Regions from separate parts of the Homo sapiens genome. Here all the other regions are linked to region 5. The links are contacts of gene promoters, found by promoter capture Hi-C in blood cells and fetal thymus (Javierre and others, 2016). All regions are on one chromosome and are shown on one strand. The core of a region is centred on a gene start or on the middle of the fragment in contact, and the rest is flanking DNA. Distances in the headings are between cores, read along the strand shown. Region 1 holds the start of PFDN5 (prefoldin subunit 5). Region 2 holds the start of PMEL (premelanosome protein). Region 3 holds the start of RPS26 (ribosomal protein S26). Region 4 holds the start of IGFBP6 (insulin like growth factor binding protein 6). Region 5 holds the start of NFE2 (nuclear factor, erythroid 2). Region 6 holds the start of SARNP (SAP domain containing ribonucleoprotein).

The links. Contacts are between HindIII fragments. The CHiCAGO score rates a contact against its expected background, and 5 or more counts as called.
Region 1: a contact is called between the fragment with the promoter of PFDN5 here and the fragment with the promoter of NFE2 in region 5, in 1 of 17 cell types (erythroblasts). The highest score is 5.6, in erythroblasts.
Region 2: the fragment with the promoter of PMEL here is called in contact with the fragment with the promoter of NFE2 in region 5 in 1 of 17 cell types (neutrophils); the score reaches 8.5 in neutrophils.
Region 3: a contact is called between the fragment with the promoter of RPS26 here and the fragment with the promoter of NFE2 in region 5, in 1 of 17 cell types (erythroblasts). The highest score is 7.2, in erythroblasts.
Region 4: the fragment with the promoter of IGFBP6 here is called in contact with the fragment with the promoter of NFE2 in region 5 in 2 of 17 cell types (naive B cells and total CD4 T cells); the score reaches 6.0 in naive B cells.
Region 6: a contact is called between the fragment with the promoter of SARNP here and the fragment with the promoter of NFE2 in region 5, in 1 of 17 cell types (erythroblasts). The highest score is 6.8, in erythroblasts.

Annotation. Positions count from the first base shown.
Region 1 is chr12:53,293,391-53,297,285 of GRCh38, forward strand. It overlaps PFDN5 (prefoldin subunit 5), which reads left to right and starts at 2,152. Exons shown (of 6, transcript NM_002624.4): 1 at 2,152-2,249; 2 at 2,449-2,551; 3 at 2,854-2,885. The coding sequence starts at 2,178. ESPL1 (extra spindle pole bodies like 1, separase) reads left to right here. Exons shown (of 31, transcript NM_012291.5): 31 at 1-248. The coding sequence ends at 84. RefSeq lists enhancers at 1,835-2,374, 1,860-3,059. The HindIII fragment of the contact is 3,517 bases long and covers 1,596-3,895 here.
Region 2 is chr12:55,963,772-55,967,889 of GRCh38, forward strand. It overlaps PMEL (premelanosome protein), which reads right to left and starts at 2,271. Exons shown (of 11, transcript NM_001384361.1): 1 at 2,165-2,271. The coding sequence starts at 2,240. It overlaps CDK2 (cyclin dependent kinase 2), which reads left to right and starts at 3,059. Exons shown (of 7, transcript NM_001798.5): 1 at 3,059-3,353; 2 at 4,086-4,118. The coding sequence starts at 3,238. RefSeq lists an enhancer at 2,750-2,829. The HindIII fragment of the contact is 16,386 bases long and covers 1-4,118 here.
Region 3 is chr12:56,040,668-56,044,654 of GRCh38, forward strand. It overlaps RPS26 (ribosomal protein S26), which reads left to right and starts at 1,251. Exons shown (of 4, transcript NM_001029.5): 1 at 1,251-1,502; 2 at 1,758-1,935; 3 at 2,696-2,826; 4 at 3,452-3,987. The coding sequence starts at 1,500. The coding sequence ends at 3,487. RefSeq lists enhancers at 972-1,761, 1,210-1,539, 1,680-1,939 and a silencer at 1,000-1,059. The HindIII fragment of the contact is 3,314 bases long and covers 337-3,650 here.
Region 4 is chr12:53,094,772-53,098,983 of GRCh38, forward strand. IGFBP6 (insulin like growth factor binding protein 6) reads left to right here and starts at 2,896. Exons shown (of 4, transcript NM_002178.3): 1 at 2,896-3,280. The coding sequence starts at 2,947. RefSeq lists silencers at 3,204-3,283, 3,294-3,413. The HindIII fragment of the contact is 8,294 bases long and covers 1-4,212 here.
Region 5 is chr12:54,299,273-54,303,230 of GRCh38, forward strand. NFE2 (nuclear factor, erythroid 2) reads right to left here and starts at 1,743. Exons shown (of 3, transcript NM_001136023.3): 1 at 1,529-1,743. RefSeq lists a cis regulatory region at 1,515-2,489 and an enhancer at 1,890-2,630. The HindIII fragment of the contact is 10,882 bases long and covers 1-3,958 here.
Region 6 is chr12:55,816,182-55,819,793 of GRCh38, forward strand. It overlaps SARNP (SAP domain containing ribonucleoprotein), which reads right to left and starts at 1,543. Exons shown (of 11, transcript NM_033082.4): 1 at 1,485-1,543. The coding sequence starts at 1,520. ORMDL2 (ORMDL sphingolipid biosynthesis regulator 2) reads left to right here and starts at 1,860. Exons shown (of 4, transcript NM_014182.5): 1 at 1,860-1,931; 2 at 2,818-2,992; 3 at 3,161-3,312. The coding sequence starts at 2,819. The HindIII fragment of the contact is 4,326 bases long and covers 396-3,612 here.

The DNA.
Region 1 (3,895 bases), core at 902-3,401, 1.0 Mb before region 5:
AACCAGGCCCGCCAAGCTCCCCGACTCAAGTATCTTATTGGGGCTGCACCTATAGCCTATGGCTTGCCTGTCTCTCTGCGGTAACCCCATGGAGCTGTCTTATTGATGCTAGAAGCCTCATAACTGTTCTACCTCCAAGGTTAGATTTAATCCTTAGGATAACTCTTTTAAAGTGATTTTCCCCAGTGTTTTATATGAAACATTTCCTTTTGATTTAACCTCAGTATAATAAAGATACATCATTTAAACCCTGTTTTGCGTAGTTTATCTGAGAACATTTAAAGACACGGCATGACTGCCCCCTTCCTACTATGTGGTACTGTAAGCTGACAGGAACAGGTTACAGCAGATCAAGTTTGAGTGCTTGGGGAAGAAAGGCAAAGACACAGGACAAAGCCTGCTGGGCCTGGCTGGGCCTCAGCAGACAAATCTGGAGGAGAAAGGGGCATCAAAATGCTAAGTAGAGACAGGCCCAAGGAAGGGTAGTGATAGACCCTTTGAGAGTGTTTTGGCCAGGTACCATCCGTCCGTCCTGTCTTCCTGCCGCAGGTATCTTTGGAGTGGCACTAGTGTTTTGTTTTTTGTTTTTGTTTTTTTTTGAGACAGAGTCTTGCTCTGTTGCCCATGCTGGAGTGCAGTGGCGCAATCTCGGCTCACTGCAACCTCTGCCTGCTGGGTTCAAGCGATTCTCCTGCCTCAGCCTCCTGAGTAGCTGGAACTACAGGCACATGCCGCCACGTCCCACTAATTTTTGCATTTTTAGTAGAGACAGGGTTTCACCATATTGGCCAGGCTGGTCTCGAACTCCTGACCTTGTGATCCACCCTCCTCAGCCTCCCAAAGTGCTGGGATTACAGGCGTGAGCCACCGCGCCCAGCCATGGCACTAGTTTTAATGCCTCAGTTGCCCTGCCTGCCTCCTAAGTAGATGTTAAAGGCTACTGCTGTCTGCCCATGTACACCTGTTACACTTACCAATGTGTAACTTTAGCAGTAGAGTCTGTGGATCTGTGGAGTTCTAGTGTGGTTTTTCTCTCCAATTGTTAAGCTCAAGGGAAGCAAGTATCTTACACTCTCACGTATCCCTCACATACAGCACATGGTAAAACCTTTTTTTTTTTGAGACAGAGTCTAGCTCTGTTGCTAGTGTGCACAATCACAGCCTACTGCAGCCTCAACTCTCCAGCTCAAGCGATCCTCCCACCTCAGCCTCCCATGTAGCTGGGACTACAGGCGTGTGCCACCAGCCCGGCTAATTTTTGTATTTTTTGTGGAGACGGGGTGTCGCCGTGTTGCCCAAGCTGGTCTCAAACTCCTGGGCTCAAGCAATCTGTCCTTCTCGGCCTCCCAAAGTGCTGGGATTGCAGGCGTGAGCCACCATGCCCGGCCAAAATATTTTATTGATTAATTTGTGCTGTACTTGGTTGACAATGGCGCTTCCTTGCTGTTCTCCCACCACCTCACTGGCAACGGGTGATAAACCCTTTTTCAGATCCTACTACGTGTCAGCCTACTTCCGGCTGGGGGAAGATGGTTATAGCGAGAGGGGAAGAATTGGTTCAGTGATGAGAACATGGTTGGTTCCTGCCTTCGACAAGCTTTCAATCTAATGCCTGTTTTTTTCCAAGGACAATTCAGAACGGTCTGACAAGGGATTTTTTTTTTTTTCCTGCCTTTCGGCCTCAGAGGCCATCTGGGAAAAAGAGTTTAGAATTTCCCTGCCATTTCCATGCCGTGCTGGGAGGAACATTTGAAATCGGGCCTGGCGGGGTACCAGCAGGCAGCAATAGCAAGCGGGGTGGAGAGGAGCAGGGCCAGGCCCCCGAGCCGTCGCCATGGCAATCCAGCCTGCTTTCCAGTAGCTTATACCACCCACGTGGAGTAGCATACACTACTTTGTAATATCGTGGTTGTGTCGTGAGAACTTTAAGATTTTGCAGTTCCTTGTAGGCAGGAGTCCTGTTTGCTGCTACTTTACAATACTAGGCTTAAGACATTTTATGAAATGAACTCACACAACAGTCTCTGAGAGGCTCAAGCCCCTCCTTCCCTTCCGGGACGGAGGATCATAGAGCTGTCTGGCGCAGCGAGGCCTCCCGGCGCCACCGAGACGCGCAGAGGACGGCTAGAGCGTTGCTCGCCGAGAGACTTCCTCTTCGTTAAGTCGGCCTTCCCAACATGGCGCAGTCTATTAACATCACGGAGCTGAATCTGCCGCAGCTAGAAATGCTCAAGAACCAGCTGGACCAGGTGGGGACGGGCCCCAGAGGCACCTCTTTCCTGCTCTACATCCCCCTTGCCCACGCGTACTTCTCGCGCCCGGTTCCAAGTTGGCAGCCTACCTTTCCCAGGCGAAACCTCTATCCGATCCCAGGACCTGCCCCCTCCCCGGCCGCGCTCCTTTCTCCCCTTAGTCCTCTCATTGACCCGCTATCCCGGTCCTCTGTAGGAAGTGGAGTTCTTGTCCACGTCCATTGCTCAGCTCAAAGTGGTACAGACCAAGTATGTGGAAGCCAAGGACTGTCTGAACGTGCTGAACAAGAGCAACGAGGGTATGGGGTAGGCGGGTGAGGGTAACCTAAAGTGGCGAACCTGCTTCTCTCGTCCCACCTCCTAACCCAGTTTTTCTTACCTGAAACGAGAAAATCCATTACATATCGTATACCGCTTCATGAACCCTTTGCATGTTGCCTGCCTAGAATTGAAAAGTACAGGACATTCCTCTGCTCCTATTGCCCCTGTTTCCGTTCTTTTCACACTGTCTGTGGGTGCTGTGCCCTGTTGGAACTCTCTTTAACGTCTTACGTTGGAGCCGCTAACCTTCCCCAGGTGTTTGTCTTCATTGCTTTCACAGGGAAAGAATTACTCGTCCCACTGACGAGTTCTGTATCCTTTCCACAGGAACGGCTACCTGCTGCCTTCTCCCTTTCTCCTTCACTCCCCCAAAAAGCGGGGAGGGGGATTGTTTTGATTACTTCAGATTACCCTCTCCTCACAATGATTTTGAGGATACCCTTTTTTTTTTTCTTTCTTTTTTGAGACGGAATTTCGCTCTGTCGCCCAGGCTGGAGCGCAATGGTGAGATCTTGGCTTACTGCAACCTCCGCCTCCCGAGTTCAAGAGATTCTTCTGCCTCAGTCTCCCGAGTAGCTGGGACTTTAGGTACGCGCCACCACGACCGGCTAATTTTTGTATTAATAGTAGAGTTGGGGGTTTCACCATATTGGCCAGGCTAGTCTCGAACTCCTGACCTCGTGATCCGCCTGCCTCGGCCTCCCAAAGTGCTAGGATTACATTACAGGCGTGAGCCACTGCCCCCGGCCAAGAATACTCTTATTACACACTTTGTAGCTCTTTTATCTGACTTCACACCAACATCCAGCTAATGTCTTGTGAACACCAAGGAGTATGTATAGTTGAGATGTAATATTTCCCTTTGCTGTTTGAGAACATTAATATGGAGATAAAGCTGGTGGTTTACACTTTGCTAATATCTTAGAAGATACAGGCAATAGACAAAAATAGGAGGATATAGAAACAGGGAGCTTGGCTCTGTTAATCTTCAACTTCAGCTTAATTGTGGCTCATTTCTAAACTGTCACTAAGAAACCTGGATTGTGTTCACTTGTTCAGTGTTTTATTTGAATGAGCAAGTTATGGCAGTAGGGCATCTTTAATCTGTAGTCTCAGAACTGACAGGCTAAAAGGAACACAGGAATAGTAGTGTGTAGTAGGGAATGGTTTAAAAAAAAAAATTAGCCAGGCACAGTGGTTCACGCCTGTAATCCCAGCACTTTGGGAGGCCAAGGCTGGCAGATCACCTGAGGTCAGGAGTTAGAGATCGGTCTGGCCAACATGGTGAAACCCTGTCTTTACTAAATATACAAAAATTAGCC
Region 2 (4,118 bases), core at 1,021-3,520, 1.7 Mb after region 5:
AACATCTAGGGAGAAAGCAGGGCTGGGATATAATGTATGTATTTCAGCACAGCAGAAACTACCCTCACCCCATTTTTCCCTTTCCTGCAGAAACCTCTCTCCCCTCCCCTTCCCTCCCCTCTCCTCTCCTTTCTGTATATAGTTCAGCACAGCAAAAACTACCCTCACCCCATTTTTCCCTTTCCTGCAGAAACTTCCTTCCCTTTCCTTTCCCTTTCCCCTTTCCTTTCCTTTTGATACAGGGTTTTGCTCTCTCACCCTGCGTGCAGTGGCACGTTCATCACTCACTGCAGCCTCAAACTCCTAGGCTGAAGCCATCTTCCTCATTAGCCTCCCAAGTGGCTAGGACCACAGGTGCTCACCACCAAGCCTGGCTAATTTTTTTTTTTTTTTTTTTTGAGACAGAGTTTCGCTCTTGTTGCCCAGGCTGGAAGGCTGGAGTACAATGGCACGATCTCAGCTTACTACAACCTCCGCCTCCCGGGTTCAAGCGATTCTCCTGCCTCAGCCTCCTGAGTGGCTGGGATTACAGGCATGCACCACCACGCCCAGCTAATTTTGTATTTTTAGTAGAGACTGGGTTTCTCTATGTTGGTCAGGCTGGTCTCAAACTCCCAACTTCAGCTGATCCACCTGCCTTGGTCTCGCAAAGTGCTGGGATTACAGGCGTGAGCCACCAAGCCTGGCCTAGGCCTGGCTAATTTTTTTACGTTTCGTAGAGACAAGGTCTCACTATGTTGCTCAGGCTGGTCTTGAACTCCTGGGCTCAAGCAATCCTATGACCACGGCCTCCCAAAGTGCTGGGATTACAGGTGTGAGCCACTACACCCGGCCTCCTTATCTCTTTTCTTTTCTTTTCTTTTTTTATTTTTTTGAGACAGAGTCTTGCTGTTGCCCAGGCTGGAATGCAATGGTGTGATCTCGGCTCACTGCAACCTCTGCCTCCCAGGTTCAAGCGATTCTCATGCCTCGGCCTCCCAAGTAGTTGGGATTACAGGTGCGTACCACCATGCCCAGCTAATTTTTGTATTTTTAGTAGAGATGGAGTTTCACCATATTGGCCAGGCTGGTCTGACCTCAAGTGATCCACCCGTCTCAGCCTCTCAAAGTGCTAGGATTACAGGCATGAGTTACTGTGCCGGGCCTCATCCCCTTTCTTTTTTTTTTTTTTTTTGAGACGGAGACTCGCTCTGTCACCCAGGCTGGAGTGCATTGGTGTGATCTTGGCTCACTGCAACCTCTGCCTTCTGGGTTCAAGTGATTCTCCAGCCTCAGCCTTCTGAGTAGCTGGGACTACAGGCATGTGCCACCATGCCCAGCTAATTTTTGTACTTTTAGTAGAGACGGGGGTTTCACCATATTGGCCAGGCTGGTCTCGAACTCCTGACCTCGTGATCCACCTGCTTCAGCCTCCCAAAGTGCTGGGATTACAGGCGTGAGCCACGGCGCCCGGCCTCATTCCCTTTCTAATGTGTGCTGTAACCCTAGTTGATTCTGCTGGGGGAGGATCTGGAATCATCTATTGAGCATCCCACCACTAGAACAAGAGAAGTCATAAGATACCCCATTCTTTCTCCACTTCCAACTCTCCTCAGAGCAGCACGGGACATTCCAGACCCTCTCACCACCCCACCCCCGCCCCTTGCTCCTGTCACGAGGCCCAATCCCCCAGAGCCCTTTCATGTGATGCTCAGCTGAGACCCCTCTGCCTATCTCTCCAGCCCCAGAACAAAAGGTCTGGGCTGTGTTCACCCGTACCCATCCCAAGAGGAGAGGATTGTATCTCCTTAGTGTTCTTACCCAATACCACATTCTCTGACTCCCCACTTTAAATCTCCTACCCCAAGAGACGTTTCCTAAAAGAGTCTCCTGCACATTTCACCCCTTTGGAGCCCGTGCTCCAGCTCACTGCCAAGGAAGCCTCAGAATCAGTGCCACAGAGACCTTCTATCCTTCTGCCCCTCCAAGCATATGAGATTATTTTCAGGCAAAATCCCAAATCTCCATGTAGGGAGGGAGCCCAGGTGCCCACATCCTCACTAAATCAAATGAGTGGGAGACGCCTGAAATATTGCCGCTATCTCCCATTAGGAGGACAGAAACCAGAGCAGGGGGAATTCATCCCCAAGTTCACACCTGCTCATGTCCACATATCCACACATACCTTTTGTAGCCCCCACAGCCAGCAAAGCACCTATCACAGCCAAATGAAGAAGGCATCTTTTTAGCACCAGATCCATTGTGTTCTTCCCTCCAGCAACCAAAGGCACTGGGGGGACTGGGATAGGCCCCTATATAAGAAAAGGGTGCTCATTTGCATAGCCCTTCCTCTTCTCCCTCAGAGAAGGCCTGGGAGGGGCCGGAGGAGAGGAAAAAGGAAAAACTGACAAAGGGATCCTGGTCCCTAGACATTGCTTTCCCATCCTGCTACTCAATGACAGTTTCTGGTTTCACTGGGTCACTCTCATCTTGATGCACTCCCGGGCAAGAGCTAACTGAAAGGCAGCTGCGTAACACATACCAGACACAACAGTTTATCATGGGAGAGTGAATTAAACCAGGAACTTCTCAAAAAGACAGAAACAGAACCCTGCATCCCAAAACAGAGACAGTGTCGGGGTATGCTATGAGGCAGAGGCAACGACTCCTCTGAGGCCCAGGATTCCTTTGCAACGAGATTCCCGGCTTCCTGGTTTCCAAAGGAGGCTCCTGGGCCAGGTGGAATTTAACCTTAGGTCGATACATATTTTCCCCAGGATTGGTGAAAATAGTGAGTTAGAAATCAAGAAATCCCTACAGACTAGAGACATAGGTAGGAAACTTGGACCCAAAGCAGGTACTTGGGAAGAGTGTTCAGCCGCCCCACCGGGGAAGAAACTTGTCTAGCCCCCAAGAACCAAACTTGCCTGGGGCGGGATCATTTGCGGGGAGGAGCGCTGGGCTCGCCCCCCGGCTCTGACGTTGACCAATAGAAAGGCCTGGGGGCGGAGCCAGGGAAACGCGGGAAGCAGGGGCGGGGCCTCTGGTGGCGGTCGGGAACTCGGTGGGAGGCGGCAACATTGTTTCAAGTTGGCCAAATTGACAAGAGCGAGAGGTATACTGCGTTCCATCCCGACCCGGGGCCACGGTACTGGGCCCTGTTTCCCCCTCCTCGGCCCCCGAGAGCCAGGGTCCGCCTTCTGCAGGGTTCCCAGGCCCCCGCTCCAGGGCCGGGCTGACCCGACTCGCTGGCGCTTCATGGAGAACTTCCAAAAGGTGGAAAAGATCGGAGAGGGCACGTACGGAGTTGTGTACAAAGCCAGAAACAAGTTGACGGGAGAGGTGGTGGCGCTTAAGAAAATCCGCCTGGACACGTGAGTGGCCTCTGTACCCGGGACTCCTAACTGGGGACCTCCTTGATTGTCCCCCCCAACCCCCCACGGGCGGGTAGCCGTCCAGGGACCGGAAGAGAGCAGGGAGGGACTTCTTTAGAAGTGGAGAGGTGGGTTGGGGGCCAGTAGAAGGTGAAGAGTATACTTATACTCCCTGGGGAGAGTATAGGGTGGTGTGGAATCCATGGAAAACTTTCTTCCCAAACTGAGCCGGATCGTGCCCCCAAATGTGCGACTACAGACTCGGGGAGAGAAAGGAGGTCTCTGAGATGAGGTCCAAGACTCTCCATGGAGTGGAGTTATGTGGGAACCGGCGAGAATCGCCTTTCTGAATGAAGAGCCCTCTTCACTGCCCCACCCTCACCTTAGAATTCTCTCCTCTTTCCAAAGAATGGCAGTTGAACCTCACTGGCCCCTCTGGGGAGGCTGGGGGCTACTCCTGCATTTTTTCCCCTCCATTACAGTCTCCCTGCTTCACCTTCACCAGGCGGCTTTACTTACCTACCCCTGGGAAAAGAGGAGATAATGGCCTTAATATATCCAAAAACCACACCCTGACTACCCAAGAATTAGCTCTTACCATCACCCTTTCTCTTCTCTCACTTTCCTAGGGGGTGCTGGGTGGTGTCTCCTTGGGGGAAAGAAATGACTAGGTGGGGGGGAAAGGAATATTTGTAACCATATTCCCATCTCTGCTTTCCCAACCTCTCCAAGTGAGACTGAGGGTGTGCCCAGTACTGCCATCCG
Region 3 (3,987 bases), core at 1-2,500, 1.7 Mb after region 5:
TATTTTTAGTAGAGGTGGGGTGTCACTATGTTGACTAGGCTGGTCTTGAACTCCTGACCTCAGGTGATCCGCCTGCCTTGGCCTCCCAAAGTGTTGGGATTACAGGCGTGAGCCACTGCACCCAGCCTAAGGCTTAAGTCTTTCCGATGGCTCTTCAGAGGTAAATGGAGCTTACACATAATCTTTCAATTAGGGGTCAGATTCACTAATGAGTGGTGAAATAATTTTCGTGGTTTTTGATCAGCATTTATTAAAATAGAGAACAGAAAGATTAAGTAAAAATAAAGAATAGAACATACCAGCACACCTATGACAAGGGTAAGTATCGTTTCATAAAGCTTGTGTTTCAGTTTTGCATGTGCATGTAATCGTGTTTGTGTGTGTACTGGGTACCAATGTAAAATGTATTCGTGCTATGAATCTGGGTGAAAAACGTTTAAGTCATTAGTCCAGGCTATTCCTCCATCCATTTGTTAGGTGACATACAGCATAGTACAGCGGAGCCAGAATACCTACTGCACGTCAGTTCTTCAATCTTTTTTTTTAATTGATTTATTTATTTTTGAGACAGAGTTTCGATCTTTTTACCCAGGCTAGAGTGCAGTGGCGCGATCTCGGCTCACTGGAAACTCCGCCTCCCAGGTTCAAGATTCTCCTGTCTTAGCCTCCTGAGTACCTGGGATTACAGGCGCCCACCACCAGGCCGGGCTAAATTCTTCAATCTTTAAAGTGAGGATAATAATAGTAGCTACCTATAGGCTTGCTCAAAGTTAAATGAGTTAATATTTATAAAGACGCTTACCACAGGGCCAGGCACTGTGCCAGAGATAAAAAGATGAATGAGAAATAGCCCCAGCCTCAATGCACTTCATTGTGGGATTTTCTCCATATTGGAAGGAGGGATTCACAAAATGCTTGTTTCCTCTCAGGCCTTCCTCTTCGTAATCCTACACCTACCTAGTAGAAGGACTGTCAGAGAAATGAGCCCAGGGCGTCCCCCGGTGGCGCAGCGCCGCCTTCGGTCTAAGCACTTGGGGCAGGGGGGAAGGGGGGGAGGGGGGAGCCTCTTGGCTTCGCACTACAATTCCCACCAAGCATCTGTCCCTCTCTGGCCTCTAATAACGAGTGCGCCTTGTGGTCCAGCGTCTGGCAACTTTCACGCCTAGCGTCGCGTATACCGGAAAACTGCATCGTCCAGAATTGCTTCCGAGTCGGCGCGGCGCAAGGCTTGCTGGGAGACACATAACCTCGATTTTCTTCCGCCATCCGGCTAAATAGTCCCATGTGCACTTTGTTCCATGGATAAATAAACACTAGGAACGCATTTCCACCCTAGATTTCAGCAGAAATGCTGAATGTAAAGGAATATTTGAGTAAAGTGAGTTGCCGTTCTTGAAGCCCGTCTCCTAAGGATTCTCCCGGTGTCCGCGTAGGGATCTCATGCTATATAGGAGGGCCCTGCCAGGCACCGTCTCCTCTCTCCGGTCCGTGCCTCCAAGATGGTGAGTCTTCTTGCGTGGTGAGGGTGGGGGTTCGGGTGCAGACTCTGGGATTGTGGGGAAGTGAGAGCCTGGAGCACGGCTGAGGGGTGGACCGAGTGTACATTTCATTTGCTCTGGGGGTCGGCGGGATTTGCGGAGAAACAGGAGATCCGAGCGGCGCCTTCCTGGAGGCTGCCGGTGCGGCTTGTGGCCGGAAAGGGACTGAGGCTGGGTGAGTTGCGCCGTTTTCCTAACAGTTTTCCCATCCTGTCGCAGACAAAGAAAAGAAGGAACAATGGTCGTGCCAAAAAGGGCCGCGGCCACGTGCAGCCTATTCGCTGCACTAACTGTGCCCGATGCGTGCCCAAGGACAAGGCCATTAAGAAATTCGTCATTCGAAACATAGTGGAGGCCGCAGCAGTCAGGGACATTTCTGAAGCGAGCGTCTTCGATGGTAAGTGGGTCACCGGCGCGAACTGTGTGAGGATCCCAGTATCTTAAAGCCTTCGCCCAACTTCGCCCTTTTGGAGGCTCTGTTCTTTGGAGCCTCTCAGGCAATTTCCACGTATTTAAGGTTGTTACTGGTAGAAGAGAATTCTCTTGTTTGCCGTTTTGATTCTTTTCTGGGCAGAGGGTGACTTTGTGATAGAGTGCACAGCCTTTACTCTGAGGTAAAGGTTTGCCTGTTTCGGTTATGAGATTGCAAAAACTAGAAACTTGGTAAATTTGACAATTCTTGTGCTATTGATTATTTGAATATTTGTGAAAATATACAGGTGAGGAAGAATGTCTTCAACGTTTCGAGAATGGAGGCCGTCTAGTTTGGTGTGCAAGGATGATGTTTGGAGCAATAAGAACGTCGCTTTGTTTTTTTCCTTTTATAGAAAGAGCAAGGTTCAGGGTAGGCATTAGGGCGGGTGTAGGTGTAGAAGGAACTGGATTATTGGTTTATTGCATTTAGAATGTCAGTCTGGTCCTTGCGGTGTCAAGATGAACTCACGTGGGATGTTAATTCACTTGTAAAACTGAGGGTTATACATATGTGCTCAGGTATTGGGCTGAACAGGTGCTTTGGGGGTGCTTTTATGTGCCCGACAGGCATTTAAATAGGTTTAGTTTTAATTGACGTAAACATGTAAGGTGCTCTTCATTCATGTAACAAAAAAGCAAGGTAGGTATATAATACCAGTATAACTCTATTTTCTATTCCTTAGCCTATGTGCTTCCCAAGCTGTATGTGAAGCTACATTACTGTGTGAGTTGTGCAATTCACAGCAAAGTAGTCAGGAATCGATCTCGTGAAGCCCGCAAGGACCGAACACCCCCACCCCGATTTAGACCTGCGGTGAGTATTTTAAAAGGAGAATGGAAGCCAGGGGAGTGATGGTTAAAATTTCATCCTGGAGGGTCAGGGTGTCCTATACCTGTAACCTCAACACTTTGGGAGGCTGGGACAAGAAGATTGCTAGAAACCAGCAGTTCAAGACCCCATCTCTTCAAAAAATATTGAGAAGGAAGCCAAGCATGATAGTGTGAACCTATAGTCTGGCTGCTCGAGAGGCTGAGGCAGGAGGATCACTTGAGCCCAGGAGTTTGAGGTTGCAGTGAGCTATGATTATACCACTTGCGCTCCAGCCAGGGCAAAAGTGAGACCTTGTCTCTTAAAAAAAAAAAAAAGTTGCTTCCTCCTGTGGTGCAGGGGGTATCAAATTAAGGTCTGTGCCTCAGGTTAAGCTGTAAGGCAGGTGAGACCCACACCTGAACATGCTTAGAGACACTGCAAAGCAGTGTTAGAATCAGAATTGGTTTTTAGGATGCAGAGTAGTGTTCTCCCTCCACCTCTATCAGCTTCCCATGCATTTGTAGCCTGAATACATCAGTTTGTGAGAGGATGGTGGTCAAGTTCTTTGGGGGAAGGGAGTCTTGGATCCATGGGTTTTAATTTACTCTTTTGTTTCTTTGTCTTTCAGGGTGCTGCCCCACGTCCCCCACCAAAGCCCATGTAAGGAGCTGAGTTCTTAAAGACTGAAGACAGGCTATTCTCTGGAGAAAAATAAAATGGAAATTGTACTTAATATTGCATGTTAAGTGTATCTGTGCCAGATAAGGTGGGGATTTTGTGTGTTAGACCAAGTGTGAAGTGACACACATTATTTTCATGGGGAAGAAAGCTTATTCATGTAATTTAATTTTTTTCTTTTTTTTTTTTTTTTTTTTGAGACGGAGTCTTTGTCGCCCAAGCTGAATTGCAGTGGCGTGATCTCAGCTCACTGCAACCTCCGTCTCCCGGGTTCAAGTGATTCTCCTGCCTCAGCTTCTTGAGTAGCTGGGATTACAGGTGTCTGCCACCATGCCTGGTTAATTTTTGTATTTTTGGTAGAGATGGGGTTTCACTATGTTGTCCAGGCTGGTCTTGAACTTCTGACCTCAGTTAATCCACCAGCCTTGGCCTCCCAAAGTGCTGGGATTACAGGCTTGAGCCACCTCGCCTAGCTATTTATGTAAA
Region 4 (4,212 bases), core at 1,646-4,145, 1.2 Mb before region 5:
CAGGCTGGAGTGCAGTGGTGTGATCTTGGCTCATCCCTTCCACCTTAGCCTCCTAGGTAGCTGGGACTAAAGGCATGCACCACCACATCTGGCTGATATTTTGTATTTTTAGTAGAGATGGGGCTTGGTCATGTTGCCCAGGCTGGTCTGGAACTCCTGGGCTCAATTGATCCTCCCACCTTGGCCTCCCAGAGTGCTGGGATTACAGGCATGAATCACTATGACAAACATCTTTAAAGAGCCACATCAATCTGGGTGCAGTGGCTCACACCTATAATTCCAGAACTCTGGGAGGCCAAGGCGGAAGGATCACTTGAGCCCAGGAGTTCCAGACCAGCCTGGGCAACATGTCGAAACCCCCTCTCTGCTAAAAATACAATTAGCCAGGCGTGGTGGTGTGTGCCTGTAGTCCCAGCTACCTGGGAGGCTAAGGTGGGAGGATCTTCTGAGCCCAGGAGGTCAAGGTTACAGTGAGCCGTGATGGAGTCACTGCACTCCAGCCTGGGAAATAAAATGAGAACCTGCCTCAAAAAAAAAAAAAATCTAGAACCAGACCAGAAATACCATTTGACCCAACGATCCCATTACTGGGTATATACCCAAAGGAATATAAATCATTCTATTATAAAAATACATGCACATGTATGTTTATTGCAGCACTATTCACAATAGCAAAGACATAGAACCAACCCAAATGCATGGAATACTATGCAGCCATAAAAAGGAATGTGATAATGTCCTCTGCAGGGACATGGATGAAGCTGGAAGCCATCATTCTCAGCAAACTAACACAGGAACAGAAAACCAAACACTACATGTTCTCACTTATAAGTGGGGGCTGAAAACAATGAGAAAACATGGACACAGGGAGGGGAACAACACACACTGGGGCCTGTGGCGGGGTAGGGGCTAGGGGAGGGAGAGCATCAGGTCAAATAGCTAATGTATGCGGGACTTAATACCTAGGTGTTGGGTTGACGGGCAGCAAACCACATGGCACATGTTTACCTATGTAACAAACCTGCACATTCTGCACATGTATCCCAGAACTTAAAATAAAATAAAATAAAATTTAAATTTAAAAAAGAGCCACACTGGGATCCTGCAAGAGCACAGCCATCTCTTTCCCCTTCCCAACTTCCCACAGGCTTTCCATCTTATTCAGGAGCACCAACCCGAAGTCCAGGAGAAAGACCCTAAGACCCTAGCCAGAACCATGTGTAGGACAAAATAAATAGTGATAAAGGGTGTGCAGCAGGACCCCAGTACTCTGGAACCCATCTCTGACAGCCTTGGTTCCAGGGAGCTTGGTCAGAGCTTGTGGCAGGGGGTTGAAGAGCCTTGGTGGAAGGGGTGCTTTCTCTCACCCCTTTCCCAATTTTGCCCTTCCTCTCCTCTGCCCTGGTCTACTTCTCCCATCAGCAGTAGCTTCTCCCATCAGCTGCCCCACAACCCTCTCCTCCCTGCCTCTCCAGTCTGCATCAGTATCTCAGGGAAACAGGAAAACACCATTCTCCAAACACATGTCCTAGGGTCCCAGGGTTGCATGGCGAAGCGGGCTGTGCTGACAATGAGGTTCGTATTATTTCTATTTACCTAAAAGTTCAAGAAGGCCTTGCTGACATTGTTGCTTGGGGCCCAGCATTTAAACTTAGTCACTGCCCAGAGCCCTTGTTTTAGGAAAGAATGAGATGGTCCCTGTTGCATAACCCAGAGTTGGGTGGGTGTGGGTTGCCGAAGGAAACAATCCCTCTTCCTCTCTCTTGTGAGGCCTGGCTAGGAGTGCCTGGGATGGGCGGGACACTGCCTGGGGAAGGCGGGTGGGGAGCGGTGGAACCCGACCCTTGGAGCGAAGGCGGACAAGTAGGTAGGCAAAGATGCTGAGTAGTCCCTCCCCAAAGTCCCCTGGGCACAAGACAGTCTGATGAATCTAGAAAACCCCATGGATGACTGGGAGGGAAGGAAACGGATTCTGGGAGAGGAGAGGAATGGAGGAGCGAGCTTACCTGAAGGACGGGGATGGGGAGGGGGGTGGGGTCTGCTCTCTGGCCACTGTCCCCAAGAGCATCCCGAATACGAGTTCCTTTAATTCTCTCCCTCTCTAGTTTCAACCTGCCAATTTCCCCCTTTCCCTGCCTCCCAGCCAGTTCTCACCCTGCACACAGCCCTCTCCAATCCTTCCAGACTCCGCATGCGCCCACCACAATGCTAGGGTCTCCTACGGTTCATTCAAGTTGTATCCCTCCCTGCCTCCCGGCCCTTCCCCCATTGGCTTACCCCAGTCTGGTTCCCCTCGGGCCCCTTTTCTCCATAGTCTTACCTCAAGGGTGCTTTCTCTTACTCCTTTCCCAATTTTGCCCTTCCTCTCCTCTGCCCTGTTCTACTTCTCCCATCAGCAGTAGAATTTCCCAAGACCCCGTTATCCACCCTCTCCATCTTTTCTCTGTCCCTCCACATTTGCCCACTCCTCTTGTGATCCACACACACCATCTCTTCTCAGTTCCCTTTCAGCCCCCGTCTTCTCACTCCCCACCGGGTCCCTGCATGCCCCTCGTCGTCCTACACATACACACTAAGTGGATTGCACTCCCGTCCTCCCCTTCTTCCGCTCCTCCCCACCCTCCAGTCCCTCCAGCCAGCTGTACAGCTCCCAAATTCCGGGCCGAGATTCCCGGGAACAAAGCAAGAAAAATCAGAGCAATTTGGGAAGTAAACAGAAACTGGAAAGGGAGAGGGAAAGAAGAGTGGGGAGGACCCAGGTTGGGGGGGCCCTCTCCAGTCCCACCCAGTTTAGGGAATGCCCCTGCCCTCTCCCCCACCCCCCTTCACCTGGCTCTTAAAGGGCCCGGCCCCTGGCCGGCGGCTACTTAAGACAGAGGGGCGGCGGCGGGCAGCAGCTGCGCTGCGACTGCTCTGGAAGGAGAGGACGGGGCACAAACCCTGACCATGACCCCCCACAGGCTGCTGCCACCGCTGCTGCTGCTGCTAGCTCTGCTGCTCGCTGCCAGCCCAGGAGGCGCCTTGGCGCGGTGCCCAGGCTGCGGGCAAGGGGTGCAGGCGGGTTGTCCAGGGGGCTGCGTGGAGGAGGAGGATGGGGGGTCGCCAGCCGAGGGCTGCGCGGAAGCTGAGGGCTGTCTCAGGAGGGAGGGGCAGGAGTGCGGGGTCTACACCCCTAACTGCGCCCCAGGACTGCAGTGCCATCCGCCCAAGGACGACGAGGCGCCTTTGCGGGCGCTGCTGCTCGGCCGAGGCCGCTGCCTTCCGGCCCGCGCGCCTGCTGGTGAGTCCGCGCCCCGCCCCTGCCCCGCCCACGTGAGACCCGCGTCCTCCAGGCAGGGTCCTGGGGAGACGGGAGTGGGTGGCCCGGCAAGCCTTTCCGCCCTGGCCCTTGACGCTTCCGACTTTGGGGGGCACATTTGTGTGGGGGAGAAGGGGCAAGTGCAGGAAGCTGAGGTGCAGCCAGGGGACCTGGTGATACAGCAGAAGGTGTCTGCGCTCTCGGCCTTCTTTTTTGCTCCATTTATTTTCCCTTGATGGAGTGTGCGTGCAGGTGGGAACTTGGGGGAGGCAGGGGGAGAAATGGGAGGGTTTTAGGGCCATCCCATGGGCTCCAGCAGGCCCAGCTCCTACAACCCTAGACGGCCAAGCTGGGGAAAGGACCCAAATGTTGTTCTCAGCTTCCACTTGGAGAAAAGGGGAGGGGAACCCCAGACTCTGAAATTCTGCACACACTGAGAAATGACTCCTTTCCTCCTAATACCGGTGTTCGAAGCACCTAAACAGGAGGCGTCTAGAACCGAAGAGGCCCCAAATCCAGGGTTGTATTAGACTTGAGTAGGGACTGAGGGCAGGCTAGGGCGTAGGTTAGGGGAGAGGGGAGAAAGAGTAGGGGAAAGAGGGAATCTGCCAAATCAGGGTTATGATTTAAACCTGCTCAGAATCGTTCACCCATCCTACCCCACCCTGCTCCAGGGAGGAGAGCAGAAGCTGAGTCACTGGGTGGGTGGGACAGAAGTGAATCAGCCGTGAAAACATGGGGGGCAGCGGGGAGATGGGGAGGGCAGGAAATGCAAACTGCGCATCCCAGAGGCTCTGGGTTCCTTCCACGGGAGGGGATGGAGAATTCACTTGGAGTTTCTTTCAGTTCCAAATGCCCGAGTGCAGGCTTCTGGGCGTCCTCCTAAAAGGTGGTCTGGGTGGATGAGAGGAGGC
Region 5 (3,958 bases), core at 493-2,992:
GGACAGCAGAGCTGGCAGGCAGTGGGATAGATCAGGGAGATAGATAGAATTGGATCAAATAGAACACCATAGAGGGTATAGAAACTGGGGAGATACTGGGAAAGTGAAGTGGGCTTCCCTGTGTTCCCTTTCTTTTACAATAAGAAGCTCCCACTTTACAGTTTAGCTTTTGCATTTTGGGGTCACACCACCATCTTACTCCCACTGGGTTGTCTGTTCCTTCTCTTACTCCCCAACATTATGGATTAGGTAGAAATGGGGTTGTCACCAGGGACTAAAGTCCATCCTCCTTACTCTTAGCCTGGTGGTCCTACCCAGAAAGATTTTTATCATAATCCCTAAGTACTCACAGAATGATACGGAGCTTCATGATTAGGAATACAGAGTGAGGACTATTCGGAGAGGGATGATGGAGAGAGGAATACATTTGGCCTTAGCTGCTGCCCCAGGGCTCTTAACTTCCTTAACGAGGGGGAACGATGAGAGGGGGCTTGCCTCAGGATCCCTTTTCTGAGGCTTATTTGACCACCTCACCTCTCCAGGTGTCAATAGGTGCAGTGAAAGGATGAGGAGGGATTAGTAAAACTTGGGGTATTGGTTAACCGGTAAGCAACCTATTTAGAAAGATTAGGGAGAACTCCCGAAGAGAGAGAGACACACAGAGATGAGACAGAATGAAGGGGAAAAAAAGGAGGGAGAGAGATTTAAGCATAGTGAGCTCAGTGCCCTAGGGACATGCATGACTCAAACAAATGTGTGAGAACAAAGAAGAGGGGGACGAGTTTCTGCTATTGTGTCACTTCATCCCTGGACCCCAAACTCCAGTCCTTTGGTACCGATGTCTAGGGGATCCCAGCCCCAGCAGTTCTGATACCTCCTCTCTTCTCTTCCACTGCTTCCCAAGCCCCTATTTCCCAAGCAGCCAAGAGTTCCAGTTAGAAGCAACTATGCTGGGGTTGGGATGTCTTCCTTCTCCCTCCAGGTCCAGCTGATCTCTACTGCCCCTGGGCACAGAGAAGAGAAAGGGCAAAGGAGCCAACAACCCAGAGGCAATCTCCCATCCAACCCCCGCACCTTGCAACACTTCTCAGAGGTTCAGATATCCAGTGTTTCCAATTCCTCAGCTTTCCCTAAACCTTCTCAGCTGCCTAGACAGGGCAGAGTAATGGAATGGAGTTGGGGAAAGGGTAGTCTATTGGTTCCCTCAGGGTAGCCCACCAGTTGAAGGATTCCTCCTGGCTACTCCCCAGCCCCTCAGCGGTGCCTTGCCTCTGGAGACCCCTCTCTGATCCCCATTCACAGCCTCCACCCCAAGGATCCCAGAGCACCCAAGAAACCACTTAGGTCTTCTCCTAGAGGAGTTCCCAAATATGTCAGATTCCTAAACCAGGGGCAATCTAGAAAGTCTGAGGTCTCCTAGGATACCGAAAGTTGGTTATTTTCCCCCCTCACCTCCTTCACCCCCCAGCCTGCCCCTCGGATCTCACTGGAATCCGCCCCCCCCACACACACCCTGCCTTTCAGGCACCTGTGGTGGAGTCACAGCAGGGTGAGGAGAGAGATGAGGCTCCCGGTGTTGTCTCTGGGGAGGCTGAGCCTGAGCTGACACTGCTGGACGAGGATCCCGGCTACCTTTGAGAATCTGCGAGGACCGCGCCCCGCCCCCGGGCCATTGCTGAGCGCTGAGTGTGGAAGCTCAGGCTGAGCTGAGCACAGGAGCCCCAAGCAGGCGCACCAGCGTCTGAAGCCCTCGGCCTGAGTTCTCAGTCCTTCCTCCAACCCTCCCCTTTCCCCGTGGCTCTCCTCTCCTCCTGCCCCTTTCGGCCAAGAGAGGAAACTTGAGCCCGATGTGGTTTCTGCCCACACCCCGCCCCCACCTTGCTCCTGGCCAGCGGGGGCACACATGGCTCCAAGCCTCTCCCAGCCCTCCTTTTCAGCCCAGGAGTCCAGCCAGGTCTGCGTTTCTCCCATGCATTTGACGAATTCCAACCTGATGGTCCACTCGAATGTGACCTTTAAACTTTATACAGGTTGTCGTCGCCTTGTGTCCCCACGGCTCTCCTAGGGACAGGGAAACTGAGTCATATCAAGGTGGAAGGCAGCTGAAGGTAAGGACCAGGTGTCTAGCTTCCCAGCTGTCTAGGCAGTTGGACGTTTAGGGTATAGCCTTCATTTACAGAAAACCTGGGCTCTGGGAACAAGGGCAGGGGAACTATTTGGAGGAGGAGGGGCAACTGACTGCTTTGATGTGTCCTTTCACCTGTAGCCTTCTCCCCTCCCCCCTCAGCCTCAGAAGTCCCAGGACAAAGGATTCTTTCTTGGCCAGGTTTTTGTCAGTGTGTGAAGGGAGTTAGGTGGGGGGCCACCCAGCAGGGAGATTATTCACCTCCCGTAAAGGGGACCCCAGGTGTCCTTTGTCCTCCTTTCTCCCAGGCAAAGCACCCCAGCCACATGGCACCCAACTCTGTTAGGCCAGTAAGTACCCTTATTCATCTTTTTTTTTTTTTTTTTCCAGAGAGGGGCTCACTCTGTCTCCCAGGCTGGAGTGCAGTGGTGTGAACATGTTTCACTACAGTCTCAAACTCCCAGGCTTAAGCAATCCTCCCACCTCAGCCTCCCAAGTAGCTGGTTCTATGGGTCAGTGCAACCATGCCCAGCTAATTTTTTTTTTTTTTTTTTTTTTTGGTAGAAGTGGTGTCTCACTATATTGCCTTGGCTGGTATTGAATTCTTGGGCTCAAGCAATCCTCCCCTCTTGGCCTCCCAAAGTGCTGGGATTACAGGCATGAGCCACCTCACCCAGCCCACTTATTCATCTTTTTGCCTGCAAGCTACACCACCAAAGCCCCAGGTCAAACATCTTTCTCCACAGACTGTGAGAAAAGAGCCTTTCTTCCTCCTAATTTGTAATGGCTTTCAGCTCTATATGTCTAGCTTCAATCCTGACATCTGCAGCTTACATTTTTTCTTCTTACAATGTTCAAGTTAAATTAGAAACATCTGAAGACTGGGGAAGCAGATAGGTGCCACTCTGGAGTAGGACTGGCATTCAACCAGCATGCTCTGATGGGATTGTATTTGCTGTTAAAATAATGAAAATGTTCAGTCCTAGTTGATAAAAGGCAGCTGCTGTGAGCCCTCTAAGTGTCCCCCACGACTCCACCAATAGCCTAGTTCTCCTCTAAGATCCCCAACAACCCAGCAACACAACCATGGAAGTAAAGAGGCAATGCTGGTACCATAAGGAGCCTCCTGTGCTGCCTGCTTCTGCTGGAATTGGCCAATGCCCATGCCAAACCTATGGTTAAATGCTTTGAATTCCATCCCTTTTCCAGTAGATCATGACTGCACATGCATGATCAAGGTAAGACAGGAGGCAATCCAATGCCTTCATTACATGTTACATGTGGGTTCAGAATCTCTTCAGACTTGGGCATGAATCTGGGTCACATATGTAGGCTCTCAGATATAATTCTCTCATTTGCATATTTATTTGGGCCACTCAGAGGGGATGAAGAATGGTAACAGTCACACTTGTGGCTGACTATATAATGATATCAGGTTATAGATAGTCAACAAACATTTATTGAATAAGAATTATCAGTTCAGGATACTGGTGTTGCATAGACAATTATGGGTAACACAAGGCTCATCATTCATTCATTCAACAAATATTTATTGAGTGTCTACTATGTTTTACATCCCAGGAACACAAAGATGAGCAAGACAGTCTGTATCTTCAGTCAAGTCTAGTCAGGGAATTACATTAATAAGGTGTATATAATAAAATAAAATAAAATAGGCCAGGCACGGTGGCTCATGCCTGTAATCCCAACACTTTGGGAGGCTGAGGCTGGCAGATCACCTGAGGTCGGGCGTTCGAGACCAGTCTGACCAACATGGTGAAACCCCTTCTCTACTAAAAATACAAAAATTAGCCAGGCGTGGTGGCATGTGCC
Region 6 (3,612 bases), core at 293-2,792, 1.5 Mb after region 5:
ACTTACTCCAGGGATTTCAAAAATAGGACAAATAGGAAGAAAATATTAGCTCTTCTATATATAGTTCCTTTTTATCTCATTCAAAAATTCCTTTTCTGTGTTATATTTTATAACAGTCCAGAAGTATACAATTTCTATAAGTACAGTATATATAAACAAAGTGGAGATGATTGCTCAATTTTTTTTAACTCATCACAATAAAGATCAAGAGACCGCTGATATAGTCTATGCATTTCAGTATCATCAAGTTAACAATAACTCCAGAATAACACAAAAACCCACTAACAGAGTTTAGAATCCAAGAGTAAGAAAAACATCAGTTTCACAGAAAGACTAATTGGGGTCAACTAATAAGTGACTAAAGAAGGGTCCTCTCCCTACCCTTACTACCCTTAAGCTTTCTTAACAGCAACAAAAACAAAAAAAAACTTTTCGAGCTTTAAAGGATCACTTTTCAGTTTCAGCTATATCAGCCTGGTTTGTCCAAAACATCTAATGGGAAAACTACTTGTGAAACCACAAACAGACAATTACTCAAGATATCTTAATTTACCCTAAAAGAAAATACTTTTTAAAATGTTCTTCTTTTTAATATATTTTTTTAACTTTTTTATATATCTAAGTGTGAAAAAACTACCAAGAGTCTCATAAGACAATTTAAAATAGCTTCTGTGATTCAGTGTCAGCCAATGGTAACACCAGGAGATGCAGGGCCCACCCGAGATATGAAATGGAACAGAGATAATCTTAACCTTGGAATTGTTTTTCCCAAATATTGCAGGTGTGAGTTCTCTCTGGTGGTTGGAGATGGTGTGTGAGGAAGGCTGGCGGGCCGAGAGCCGCGTGACAGAACTCGAAAACTTTTAAATCTGAGGTGTCTGTACTTCTACTATTCTCAAGACCTCCTCAACCCCAGGCTTCTAAGGCGAGACCGATCTTCTGAGAGGCCTCTCCCTGTTTCAAAATTCGGCTTGGGGCGTAATCCCACCTAGAAAAGGGGAGTGGAAGTATTTTCTGAGTGTCTGGTACCTATTTAGACAGAAATACACAAAAATGCCACCATTTGCTAACAGGGAAATCTCAGCTTCGGACGACAGACTGGAAACATCATCCCAGGGAAGAAAAACGGATCCTGGCTCCGACATGGGGCAAAAAGGAGGGACCAACTGACGTAATGCAGCCCTGAAAAGCAACGAAGAGTATAACAGGTAGAAGGCACTTACACAACCCAGTGGGGAAGGGTGACGGACGATACAATGATGAAGGAAGCAGAAATAACAAATAAATATAGCAGTAAAGCCGTGAGGAGAAATGGGAAATTAGGGAAGGCGTAGTGTGGAAGGGTGGCACAAAAGAGCTACGGCGGGAGCCGAGAAACGAAGTGGAAAAGGCTGCACGGAGAAGACGTAGGAGAAGGCGCAAGCTACCCTGTAGAATTCAGTTCCTAGAAAAGTCCAACTCAGCCCTTCCCCGATTCACGGTACCTTTAGCTTATGGAGCTCCACCGTCTCGGTCGCCATCTTGTTACCCCTCACTCCACTAGGCCCCCACCCGCGGCCTCCGCCTCCAGGAGCTCCCGCCTTAGGCGTAGAGATGCAAGGCTGACCAATCGTTGTCACTCTTGCTCCCACGCCATACCATCAGCTCTTCCCATTGGTCAATAGCTGACGTCGCTCTCACTTCTCTAGGCAGCTTGCCCCACCTCTTTCAAAAGGTGGAACTGGGAGAGGGGCGGGCACTGTATCTTGCGAACGACAGAAATGGCAACCAACTGTGCTTCTGCATTACAGACCACCAACCAATGGGTGGTGGCAGCGCTGATTCTGTTCCTCCAATAGGAAAGGGGCAGAAGGAGAGGCGTTACTTCCTGGAGACTTCAGGTGTGGTAGCCGGCGCCGCGCCCATAGCCGGACGGGGATCTGAGCTGGCAGGTAGGAGCTGCAAAGACTGTAAGGGTTGCTGAGGAAAAATGGTGGGAGGCGAAAGGGGCGCCGAGGGAGTGGTGACCTAAATACTGAGAGGGGAGCGCTGAAGGGAGCCCTGAAAAAACCGATGAACATGAGGAGGAAGCTGGGAGGGGCATGGGGCGGGCTTAAGGAACTGGCGGTGGGGCTGGGGCGGGCAAGAGCCGCTTCCTAACCAGACATCATCAGCTTTAGAGCTACCACAATTTTAAAGATCCGAGTTCAGATAATCACTGCTGCCCCTGGAGTCAGAGCCAAGGCTCCACCTTTCGAGGTATTGAGCTCAGGTCCCTTCCTAACCCAGTCCAGAAGCCGTGGGCAAGTTGTTGTCGTGCCCCACGCTTGAGAGAAGTAATGGGGATGCAGACTGTTTACATGCCACGGAGGTGAGAGAGAGGGTGGACAAGCCCCAGAGAACAAAGTGGGGACCAGAGTGAGCTTTACTCTGTCATCCCTTCTTAGTGGTTCTTTGATGATTCCATGACTTTCGCCTGGAATTCTGGGTGTACGTGACCTCTTCATGGTTATTAACTTCTTCAGCAAAGTCAGATACTCCTATTTCCCTTGCTCCCTGAAGTGAGTGCCCCAAGCCTACACATACACCTTCATGTTACAGTTGACGTGTAAAGATCAGAGCAATAATGACTATGTCTCTGAAATGTAGTGAGGACTCTTCTTGTCTTTTAAAGTTTTCCCCAAGTCTTCAGTTTTTATTTTCTGCGTGATGGGTAAGTTCTTCATTCCCAATAGAGTTCAGGGGATTGGGGCTATCTGAGAGACAACTGGGAGATAGCTCAAGAGGGGTTGAGAAAAAACTGAGCTGGACTCCTGCCTGATCCCCCATTACGGCTAGGATGAATGTGGGGGTGGCACACAGCGAAGTAAACCCCAACACCCGAGTGATGAATAGCCGAGGCATCTGGCTGGCCTACATCATCTTGGTAGGATTGCTGCATATGGTTCTACTCAGCATCCCCTTCTTCAGCATTCCTGTTGTCTGGACCCTGACCAACGTCATCCATAACCTGGTGAGCACTAAACCACGCCCTTGTACCCACCCCAGGGTTTCCCAACCAAAAGCAAAATAAAATCACCAATTGTTTGGGGATTTATGTGTTCCTTTTGGGATCTTAACATAATTCTTTGACTGAAAAACTACTTTCTGCCCCTCACACTGCCACCTTCCCTGTTCCCAGGCTACGTATGTCTTCCTTCATACGGTGAAAGGGACACCCTTTGAGACTCCTGACCAAGGAAAGGCTCGGCTACTGACACACTGGGAGCAAATGGACTATGGGCTCCAGTTTACCTCTTCCCGCAAGTTCCTCAGCATCTCTCCTATTGTGCTGTGAGTCTATGGGGGAAATGAGATATGCTGGGTTAGAAAGAGCTCCAAGAGCCAGGTAGAAAGGCCCATAGGGAAGCTGTTAAAAAGCAGACTTCTCATCTAAAACCCTTTGAAGATATTATGGTATACTAGTTCTAAGCCTACAGAGAGCAGTAAAATGTAGATTACAGTCAATACTGTAATCAAGCATTCCTTGCTGCCTCCTTGGTAGTAAGGAAATGAAGGGACTGAGAAAAGATAAGTGCCAAATAAAACCAAATGATTTTACACTGCCAAAAGAAGTAAATAAAGGCAGAACTG